Regions from separate parts of the Homo sapiens genome. Here region 1 is linked to region 2. Evidence: promoter capture Hi-C in 16 types of primary human blood cells and fetal thymus (Javierre and others, 2016). All regions are on one chromosome and are shown on one strand. Each heading gives the region's core, a stretch centred on a gene start or on the middle of the fragment in contact. The rest is flanking DNA. Distances are from core to core; before and after follow the strand shown. Region 1 overlaps TMED10 (transmembrane p24 trafficking protein 10). Region 2 holds the start of FLVCR2 (FLVCR choline and putative heme transporter 2).

What was found. The method cuts DNA at HindIII sites, captures the fragments that hold promoters and counts their contacts. A CHiCAGO score of 5 or more calls a contact.
Region 1: a contact is called between a fragment that was not itself captured here and the fragment with the promoter of FLVCR2 in region 2, in 1 of 17 cell types (activated CD4 T cells). The highest score is 6.8, in activated CD4 T cells.

Annotation. Positions count from the first base shown.
Region 1 is chr14:75,138,295-75,143,827 of GRCh38, reverse strand. All of the region lies in intron 3 of TMED10 (transmembrane p24 trafficking protein 10), which reads left to right. Among named protein-coding and RNA genes, the nearest start is that of NEK9, 14 kb to the right of the region's middle. The HindIII fragment of the contact is 2,336 bases long and covers 314-2,649 here.
Region 2 is chr14:75,576,808-75,582,123 of GRCh38, reverse strand. FLVCR2 (FLVCR choline and putative heme transporter 2) reads right to left here and starts at 3,504. Exons shown (of 10, transcript NM_017791.3): 1 at 2,483-3,504. The coding sequence starts at 3,151. FLVCR2-AS1 (FLVCR2 antisense RNA 1) reads left to right here and starts at 2,536. Exons shown (of 3, transcript NR_110552.1): 1 at 2,536-4,347. RefSeq lists a silencer at 3,559-3,628 and an enhancer at 4,339-4,398. The HindIII fragment of the contact is 6,290 bases long and covers 371-5,316 here.

The DNA.
Region 1 (5,533 bases), core at 232-2,731, 440 kb after region 2:
CGAGTAGCTGGGATTACAAGTGTGCACCACCACACCCAGCTAATTTTTGTATTTTTAGTAGAGACAGGGTTTCACCATGTAGGCCAGGCTGGTCTCCAACTCCTGACCTCAAGTGATCTGGCCACCTCGGCCTCCCAAAGTGCTGGGATTACAGGCATGAGCCACTGTGCCAGCTCTGTTATGTTTATCTTGCTTGTGTTAGACTAGATGGTCTTCACATTTATTGCTGTGCTCCTGGAGTTGGTGGGGGCTGTGGTGGGAGGCATGGAGGCAGCAAACTACTTTGACTGAATTTGTCTTGTCACAAGAAGCTTCTCTCTTGGATCTTGATGCTCCACCAAGGAAAAGAATTTAGAGATTCCCTAGAGGTTAGATTAACACCTCTGTTTTAAGAAGCAGTTTTTTCAGAGAATTAATACCTTTTCTTGGTACAGTTACATATAACTCTGTGAACTCTTTAGATTCAAATCTTCATTATAATGGAAGATTTGGATATGGTTTTAGAAGAGTTTAATTTTACTGGTATTTTGGAGGTGTTATACAGAAAAAGGCTTTGTAACTTGTAGCTTTTCCAAACAGTACCTACCATGACCAGTAAGAATGATGTTAATAGATATGGTGGTAGAGAAGGCTTTCTCCTAGGCGGCGGGCCTCATGAAAATAGATGCAGGCTGGGCGCGGTGGCTCACACCTGTAATCCCAGCACTTTGGAAGGCTGAGGCAGGTGGATCACCTGAGGTCAGGAGTTCAAGACCAACTTGGCCAACATGGTGAAACCCTGTCTCTACTAAAAATACAAAAATTAGCTGGGTGTGGTGGCAGGCGCCTGTAATCCCAGCTACTCGGGAAGCTGAGGCAGGAGAATCATTTGAACCTGGGAGGCAGAGGTTGCAGTGAGCCAAGATCGTGCCACTGCACTCCAGCATGGGTGACAAAGCAAAACTCTATCTCAAAAAAATAAAAAAAAGAAAGAAAAAAAATCAATGCAGAGTGCTTTTAGTATACAAGAAACACTTGCTTCAGGGGACCAGCAGCACTTAGCTACTTTGAGAAAGTTGGCTTCTTTGAAGAAGGCATAGAGTGGGCAGAACAGGTCAATTACAAGTGTTTACCAAGTCTCAGGTCTTTACGACTATATAAACTATAAATCATTTTAATTTCCTTGAGTTCAGGAGCCAAACTAGTGTGGAGGGACAGGATAAAAATAAAACAATTTGTGAATATGACAATATATGATTGAGTGTTAACTGTGTGACACAGTATGTGTTGTAGGGCTTCAGGGAAGACAGTGTGGACAAGAGTGGTTGAAGGAGGCTTTCAAGGAGGCTTGAAAGATAGGTCAGATTTGGGTACAGAGAGCATAAATGCTTTTGGAAGTCAGGGATTCTGTTCTCGAATTTTACAGCAGAGTTTGGCAGTTTAAATGCTGTGATCACCCTGGGTAGGGAGTTAAGAGACCATGGTACTGTTAATTTTGGTTGGACACCCAAAGGGCTGAGTAACTTTATGGAATCTTTAGTTTCCTCATTTGAAAAATGAGGGACTCACTGCAAAATGAAGCACCTTGTAACTATAACATCCTTTGATTATTTAACAACTACATGCAGCTTGCCAGGGGGATATCACCCCCTATTGGAGAACCTGTGGTGCACATTGTCTTACAGACTTGGCAAAACATACCTCATGCTTCCAGTGATGAAGGAGAGTAGAATAGAATACCAGCCTGCCTTCATGAAACATGTATAATTTGGCATTTTTACAGATACTCTGAACAGTTCAATCAACTGCTTACAAGAGCAGAACAACAGAAAGTGGGAATTTTGATATTGAGGATTTTTTAGCTTTTTGTACTGTGATATAAAGCCTCAATGCTATGTATTGAATGCTTAGTCCAGAGCAAGTAAAGAGCGTCTTCTTGAGAATACTTACCATGATTTGTTTTAAAATTTTACTCTGTTGCCCTGCAAAAATAATAGCAATGGGAAACCCAGGAAGTTTATTAGTCAAACTTTATTAGTCAAGCAAACAGGACAACTTATATAGATCCTTGTGGCCTAATATAGCTTGTTCATTTCACCTTTGATTCAGGAAAAACTTAGTATACTCATCTGGTTTTCTTTATTAAATTTCTAGTACTTACAGAATAAACTCACATAGACTTGGATTCTAATGCCAACTGCACCAAGCTGTGATACTTTGGGCAAATTATTTAATACCTCAGAGCCTTAGTTTCCTCATCTGCAAAACTTAAGGATAAAAATATTCACCTTATAGGGTTACGAGGATTAAATGAGATTACAAAATATACTACATTGTGAGCATATATGAATGGCTCTGATTCATTATACTACCTTTTTCATCCCCTTCCCTAATTTAGTCTCAGCCTAACTTTTGAGCCTTTTATTTGCTATTATCCCCTACCCTCCCCAAGCACAAGTGTGTGGCAGTTATGTGTGTACATGCACACATACCCTATAGTCTAGTTTCTAGCACACCAGACTACTTATGTCTAGACTATTCGTAGTTGCTAAACATGCCTGCACTTTACTCCCTCCGTGTTTTGGTTTACAGGTTCCCCTCAGCCTTGAATGCCCTCTCAAAAGTCCTGCCCAACTTGTGAGACCCAGCTCACCCACTTCCTGTTAAGCTTCACTTTGTCCTCCCAACTAGAACTGTTTTTAATGTGTATTTTTTGTTATAGAAGTTACTACATAAAGCCATATATTATGGTTATAACTTACTATATAAGCTGTGAGAGCTTAAGATCATAACTTACCTTGGTACCTTGCACATAATAAGAACTCAGAAAAAAACGTTAAGGCCTTAAAATGTTTAAAAAAAATCAAGAAACTTTTTTATATTTGTTTTAAGCTGGTAATAAAAGTCTATTGTTATATATTCTTGCAATAAAGTTTTTTTTTCTTTATTATTATTACTACTTTGTAATAGAGATGGGGTCTTGCTGTGTTGCCCAGCCTGGTCTCCAGCAATCCACCTGCCTTGGCTTCCCAAAGTGCTGGTATTACTGGCATGAGCCACTGTGCCCTGCCTGCAGTGAAGGTTTTTTGTTTTTTGTTTTAAACCACTGACTACTACTACTACTTCTTCATTTATTTATTTTTTTGAGACAGAGTCCACCCAGCCCAGGCTGGAGTGCAGCGGTGCCATCTCAGCTCACTGCAACCTCTGCCTCCCAGGTTCAAAGGATTCTCGTGCCTCAGCCTCCTGAGTAGCTGGGACTACAGGCATGCGCCACCATGCCCAGCTAATTTTTGTAATTTTAATAAAGACTGGGTTTCACCATGTTGGCCAGGCTGGTCTCAAACTCCTGGTCTCAAGTGATCCATCCGCTTCAGCCTCCCAAAGTGCTGAGATTACAGGCGTGAGCCACCACACCTGGCTAATTTTTTTCTTTTGTAAAAATAAACAGGCCAGGCCCAGTGGCTCACGCCTGTAATCCCAGCACTTTGGGAGGCCGAGGAGGGCGGATCATGAGGTCACAAGTTCGAGACCAGCCTGACCAACATGGTGAAACCCTGTCTCTACTAAAAATACAAAAATTAGCTGGGCGTGGTGGCACGTGCCTGTAATCCCAGCTACTTGGGAGGCTGAGGCAGGAGAATCTGGGTGACAGAGCAAGAGTCCATCTCAAAAAGAATAAACAACAGAAATTTATTTCTCATAGTTCTGGAGTCTAGGAAGTTCAAGATCAGGGTGCCAGTGTGGTCAGGTTCTGGTGAGGGTCCTCTTCTGAATGCATACTGCCTCCTCACTGTGTTCTCACATGGAGGAAGGCGGAATTACTTTCCTTAATAGCATTTAATTGTTAAGTCCGTCAGATTTTGGTGGTTTGAAAAGATCTTTGTTCTTTGATTTCCTCCAAATATTATTTGGATTTCTAGGTTTAGATTCAACATAGAAATATATCCATGATTGTTGTTTTTTACTATTGAGTATCCATGGTGTACTAGGTGTTTGGAATGGCAAGCTAGATTTCAGTACTGTTTTAGTCTCTTGAGATTTCTTTAAGATTTCTAGATTTTAAATTAGTATCATGAGTGAAGGTACTTATTAGGCAAAAATGGCTTCTAGGAAATGAGACCAAAATGAGACCTTCATCCCACTAATGAAGGTCTGAAAATAATTTTCTGGATGAAAGATGGGATTCAATAGATTTTTTTTTTTTTTTTTTGAGTCGGAGTCTCAGTTTGTCTCCCAGGATGGAGTATAGTGGCATGATCTTGGCTCACTGCAGCCTTGACCTCCCAGGCTCAAGTGATCCTCCTGCCTCAGCCTCTCGAAGTATTGGGATAACAGGTGTGAGCCACCACGCTTGGCCTCAGCAGAGATTTTGTTGAGGAAATAAAATCAACTTTGAAGATAGGAATTTGACTGTTTGGTTATGAATAGAGGTGTAGAGTCTGAAGTAGCACCTGTACTAGAAAAGGGGTTGGGAATTGAATGATTAACTAAACAATGTGGAATACTAGCTGTGTGGAATGCTGTGCAGCAGTTAAGAATAAGATGAATTGATAAGCACTGACATTTTTGGAAAGATCTTACTAAATGGAAAAAAGCTATAGAACAATGTGTGTAGTATGCCATTTATAAATAGATTTTAAGTTATATTTTTCTGTGTACATTTACATACAAAAGCATAGTGTCTCAGAAGAAAAGGTGTGGAAAGATAATACATCAAGTTTATAAGCATCTTTACCTCTGGAAAGCAATGTGGGAATTGAGGAACCATGAAGGTAGACTTTTGGTTTATATTCTCTTTGCTTCTGGATAGTTTAAATTTTTAGCCAAAGAATATATTTATGTGTTGGTTGTACAACTAAAAAATAAGTTTTATTACTGGAAAGGGATTGGGAACAGCTTGTGGGGGGCTGTAATCTACAAAAGCCATCTTCAGTACCAGGTTTAATTCCATCATTGTTTTTCGGGTTTTAGGTCTCTGGACTATTGTCCTTTAACAACAACAACAACAAAAATAAAAAAAAAAAAAAAAAAAAGAAGCAAAGGCTGTGGGATTCAGTAGGCTTTAAAGTAATTTTTTTTTTAATATCATTTTCAGCTGGCAGAGGCACAGCCATAGTTTCACTTCCAGTTTCTTTTGCAAGTTTCTATTTAGGGAACTTTAAATAATTTATCTCTAAGAAGTATCATGCCATTTCCTTTATACTGTCTCATTTAGGAAGCTCTGAGTGGGGAAGTATAGAGCAGGAGGGAAGATGTTAGACTAAGGTTCAGCTTGTATAGCTCCTGTATTTTTCTTGAGGAATTTTTTTTTGTTCTGCAGCTCTATATGAGATCAATGAACAGATATATATTCTGGGTTAATGACAAAACCTGGCATTTGGCCATTCACTTAGGAAAGTTAGCTCTGTGCATTAACTATTGGTTAAATCTTACACCCAGAAGCTGTTCTGCAGTTACCAGTCACACCGTTAACTCTAGCCAACATTTTACAAACGCAAGAAAATGTGCTTCTGGTGAGAGAAAACTGTAGGTGTATCATCGCAAGTCTATC
Region 2 (5,316 bases), core at 2,255-4,754:
TGCTTATGCTGATATGGTAGCTAAAGAAGCAGCTAGCATTACAACTTCTGTCCCTCACGGCCAGTTTTTCTCCTTCTCATCGGTCACTCCCACCTACTCTCCCACTGAAACTTCAACCTACCAATCTCTTCCCACACAAGGCAAACGGTTCTTGGACCAAGGAAAATATCTCCTTTCAGCCTCACAGGCCCATTCTATTCTGTTGTCATTTCATAACCTCTTCCATGTGGGTTCCCGCCTCTTAGAACCTCTCATTTCCTTTCCATCATGGAAATCTATCCTAAAGGAAATCACTTCTCAGTGTTCCATTTGCTATTCTACTACTCCTCAGGGATTGTTCAGGCCCCCTCCCTTCCCTACATATCAAGCTTGGGGATTTGCCCCCGCCCAGGACTGGCAAATTGACTTTACTCACATGCCCCGAGTCAGGAAACTAAAATACCTCTTGGTCTGGGTAGACACTTTCACTGGATGGGTAGAGGCCTTTCCCACAGGGTCTGAGAAGGCCACTGCGGTCATTTCTTCCCTTCTGTCAGACATAATTCCTCAGTTTGGCCTTCCCACCTCTATACAGTCCAATAACGGACCAGCCTTTACTAGTGGAATCACCCAAGCAGTTTCTCAGGCTCTTGGTATTCAGTAAAACCTTCATACCCCTTACCGTCCTCAATCTTCAAGAAAGGTAGAATGGACTAACGGTCTTTTAAAAACACACCTCACCAAGCTCAGCTTCAAACTTAAAAAAGAGGACTCTGTCAAGAATAGAGCCCAAAAACTCACCAAACAAACAAGTAATTATGCTAAATCCCCTTGGACCCCTTTGGACACTCTCTAATTAGATGTCCTAGGTCCTCCCAATTCTTAGTCCTTTAATACCTGTTTTTCTCCTTCTCTTTTTCAGACCTTGTGTCTTCCGTTTAGTTTCTCAATTCATACAAAACCGCATCCAGGCCATCACCAATCATTCTATACGACCAATGTTTCTTCTAACAACCCCACAGTATCACCCCTTACCCCAAAACCGTTCTTCAGCTGAGTCTCTCCCACTGTAGGTTCCCACGCTGCCCCTAATCCCGCTCGAAGCAGTCCTGAGAAACATCTCCCATTATCTCTCCATACCACCCCCAAAATTTTTCGCTGCTCCAACACTTCACTATTTTGTTTTGCTTTTCTTATTAATATAAGAAGACAGGAATGTCAGGCCTCTGAGCCCAAGCTAAGCCATCCTATCCCCTGTGACCTGCATGCTTCAGGCAATCCAGATTGCCTGAAGCAACTGAAGATCCACAAAAAAAGTGAAAATAGCCTTAACTGATTTCATTCCACCATTGTGATTTGTTTCGCCCCACCCTAATTGATCAATGTACTTTGTAATTTCCCCCACCCTTAAGAAGGCTCTTTGTAATTCTCCCCACCCTTGAGAATGTACTTTGAGATCCACCCTGTCTGAAAAACATTGCTCCTAACTCCACCACCTATCCCAAAACCTATAAGAACTGATGATAATCCACCACCCTTTGCTGACTCCTTTTTCAGACTCAGCCTGCTTACACCCAGGTGAAATAAACAGCCTTGTTGCTCACACAAAGCCTGTTTGGTGGTCTCTTCACATGGACGTGTGAGACAGGATTACCAATCCTTTGTTAAACACACAGCCAGGACTGTACGTGCTTGGAAAGATGCGAGACTGGGAGGCAGTGGTCTGGCTAAAGGACGTTTGCTTTAAATATTCCCATAAATATTTGCTTCGAGTATTTGGAGACGGCATTCAGGTTCACAACCTGCCCAGCTTTCTGGATCATAACCACATTGAGATGCAAAGAATTTGAGCTTCTCCTTCCAATAAGAAAGAAAGAGAAAAAGATTAAGACATGAACTACCCTTTCTAGGCCATGGAAACTCAGAGTGAGATTTCTACTCCATCCTGCTGGACTTGGCTCTAAATCCCAGGCAAGGAGTTTGGCACAAAGCACTGCTCCCACTGTCCTGGCTTCAGCTGTGTGTAAAACAAGGTAAAAGCAGTGCCAAACACCACCAGGCATGGCTTTGCAATTCTATGCAGTAGAGGAGATACTGCACTCTAGGAAAGCTGGTTGGTCCAACTGAAAGCACTGCCAAGTTCTGATGACACCAGAATAGTCTGATGCCCAGGGGCTGCTGCCAGACAGAAGAGCATTCCTGAAATTACAGGTCTAAGTTGGTGGACTGACACAGGTTCGAGAACGACACAGCGAAGGTATAGTATGTTCTAGAAGCATGCTTTTGGCTGGGGCAAGAGCAACTGTGGATGAAAGAGCAGGTCCCCCTGCTTTTGTTTCCCGCCTCTCTTACAGCATCACAATCACTGCCTGTCACACCCAGTTACTGTCACCCAGAGTCACAAACACTGTTGGACAATCAGCAAATTATAGCCTACCACACCCAATAGTTAGGTGCAATCTAACACACGCCCCTGGGAACATTCACAAACTGTTCTACCTACCTGATTGCCAAAGACAGCCACGGAGCAGGCTGTTGAAACCTCATTAGCCCCGAACCAGACGGAAGCGATGCGGGAGGGCATGCCCAGGATGAAAACCTGGGCCACAGAGCAGATGAGCTGGCCCACCACGGTGACCGGAAAGAGATGCGGCTTCAGGCTGCCCAGCTTCACCCAGGCCCCCAGGCAGTTGAGAGCCGAGCCAGTGAGAGCAATGGTGCGCAGGCCGAACTTCTCCAGCAGCCAAGCCACTGGCAGGAGCAGAGGGATGTAAGTCAGCATGTAGCACATGGACAGCCAGTCAATGGCAAAGGCACTGACACCGTAGAAGTGCATGAAGATGTTATTGATGGAGCCGTACTGGATCCACTGAAAGGAGTTGCACATGGAGTAGCAGCTAAACACCAGGACCACGGCCCAACGGCGCCTGCTCACCTTGATCACGCTGAGGTCCTCAGGGCCCGAGCTACTGGGGTGAGCCAAGCCACTGGGTTGGGCTAAGGCACTGGGGTGGGCCGAACTGCTGGGGTGGACAGAGACGCTGGGGTTGATGGAGACGCTGGGATGGACCGAGACGCTGGGATGGACCGAGACGCTGGGGTCCGCTTGGAGTGCGGACTCCGGCACAGGGGTGTCATCGCTCTCTTCCTGGTTGGGACCTTCATTCACCATCGCCACAGTCTCCTCTGGAATCCTGGAGAAGTGGTGAGGACTCCGGCAGTCTTAAGGGACAGTGGCCTCTGCTGGTCTCTTAGAGTTGAAAGGACACTTGCCTATTCCAGAAGAAACAGAGACTAGAGGCTGCGTAAAAGCCTCAAGTGGGGCTTCCTGTGCTCACCTCCAAGCTCCTGCTCCCACTTTTGCTTGGGGCTCTCTGTTGCCACCCGCGGCGATCGCTGTCCCAAGGCCGGCCGCACACGCCGCAGCCGGCTCCGGACCGCTCCTGCCTTGGGTCTCCCCACGAGGCGTTCCTTGTGCAGGAAAAGTTCTCTCCTTGCGCAGCCACTTCGCCCGCAGAGTCCTCTCCCGGGCCAGCTTGGGGCCTCGCCCAGTCGGGCACACGTGACCGCCCCGCCCCCGTCCTGCCTGGCTTCTTCCGCCCCCAACCCCCCCGCCACCACTCCACCCCCGACCCAGTGTCTCTTGCCTTCTCGAGCCCGGTCCTCCGGGCAGAGCAGTTGTTTCGCCACAGCTTGCGGGATGCATTCCTCCCCCACGCCCCGGGCGCCATGGAAACCGCCCGGTTAACCCCCACCCTTTGCACTGCCCCTCATATTCATTTGCCACCCGCTATCAGCGGACCCTGCAAGAAGATCCGCCTTCCCGAAGTAATGCCCAAAATAGAGCCTCTCCGGTGCCTGTCCGCATGCCCTGCGCGCGTGCACCAAAGCCCGGCGCCACCTAAGTGTTCTGGGGAATTCAAGAGGGATTCCCCAACTTTCTCCCCCTTGGCTTAGGCTCCCAGCCCTTTGCTGAACTAAAGAGAGATTTGTAGATTTCCCGGGCTGGTTGCGCTCCTGGGTTAAAGGGGAGTTACAGAAAACTCGCTTTACTCGCTTCTTTCCCTGCGGACGTGGTTTTGTCTTGGGGAGGTTAGATTTGAACCTGTTATGTGGGGCTATTTTTCCTGATGGATTCTGGGCGAAGACCCTAGGGTGCGGGGGAGGGAAAGGAGAGTTTGAAGAAGCCGAAGAAGCTGTCCGCGGTTGTGTGATGGAACGCTTAGCACAGAGCTGGCTCCGGGCTTGGTCTTGGAAGCGGTCTTTGAACTCAAGCAGCCCTAGTCTGCCACCTGCCGGTCCTAGCCCATTTCAAAGGGCAAACCCTCGACTCGTTGCACTGACCTCTGTCCTTGGCGAGGGATCCTGGTAAGGAGCCCAAATTCTCCCTGAGTTCAAACACCAGCTTAGCTACAATGAGGTGCCACTGTAGACCAAGGAACTCCACCTCTCTGCGCTTCAGTTTCTTCATCTGTAAAATGGAAATGATGAAATAATAGTACCTACCTCACCGTGTTGTTCTGAGACTTGAATGAATTAATACACGAATGCACTTAGAAAATTCCTGCCACATAGTAAGCATTCCGCGAATGCTGGCTATCCTAGCAAAAAGCTAACATTTGTTGTACAGTGCTAAACAAATTGAATGCATTAGCTCATTTATGCATCACAAGAATTCTGTGATAAAGTTACTATTGCTGGCCTAAATTTTATAGACAAGAAAACCCAGACTCAGAGAAGTGAAGTAACTTCTTTCTGAAGGTCCCAGCTGGCAAGAAGAGCCATAATTCTCGTTCAAGTCTGTAATCATTCAAGCTGTAGCCTAGCTATTCAAGCACAGTCTGTGGTTAGCAGCGTGGGCACCTGTGGGAGCTTTTTAGAAGGCCAGAATCCCCTCCAGTGTTAAGGCCTTAAAAAACAAAACGGCAACCACAAAACAACCAAGAAGGTTGTCAGGCCCAACCTAGACCCACTGAATTGAAAGCTGCATTTTAACAAGATGCCCAGGAGATTCATTTGTTTACACATTAAATTTTGAGAGCTACTGGGCATCACTGCTTCTTTATTTTTTTTTTCTTTGTTAAACTTCAGACCAGAAAATGAATAACTTGAAGCTCTGGGAAGTGGCTCTCCATTTTGTCTGCACATTAGAATCATATGAAGAAACTCTTAATATCCCAAGTGTTCGGGCAACACCCCATTTAGCGATCTCCGAGGGTGGACCTGAACATCTGCATGTCACAAGCTCCGCTGGTCATCCAAACGTGCAGCCAAGTTAGAACCACTGATTCCCAGGAGAGAACTAGATTCAAATGATCACTCCCTGCTTGAAGGCAC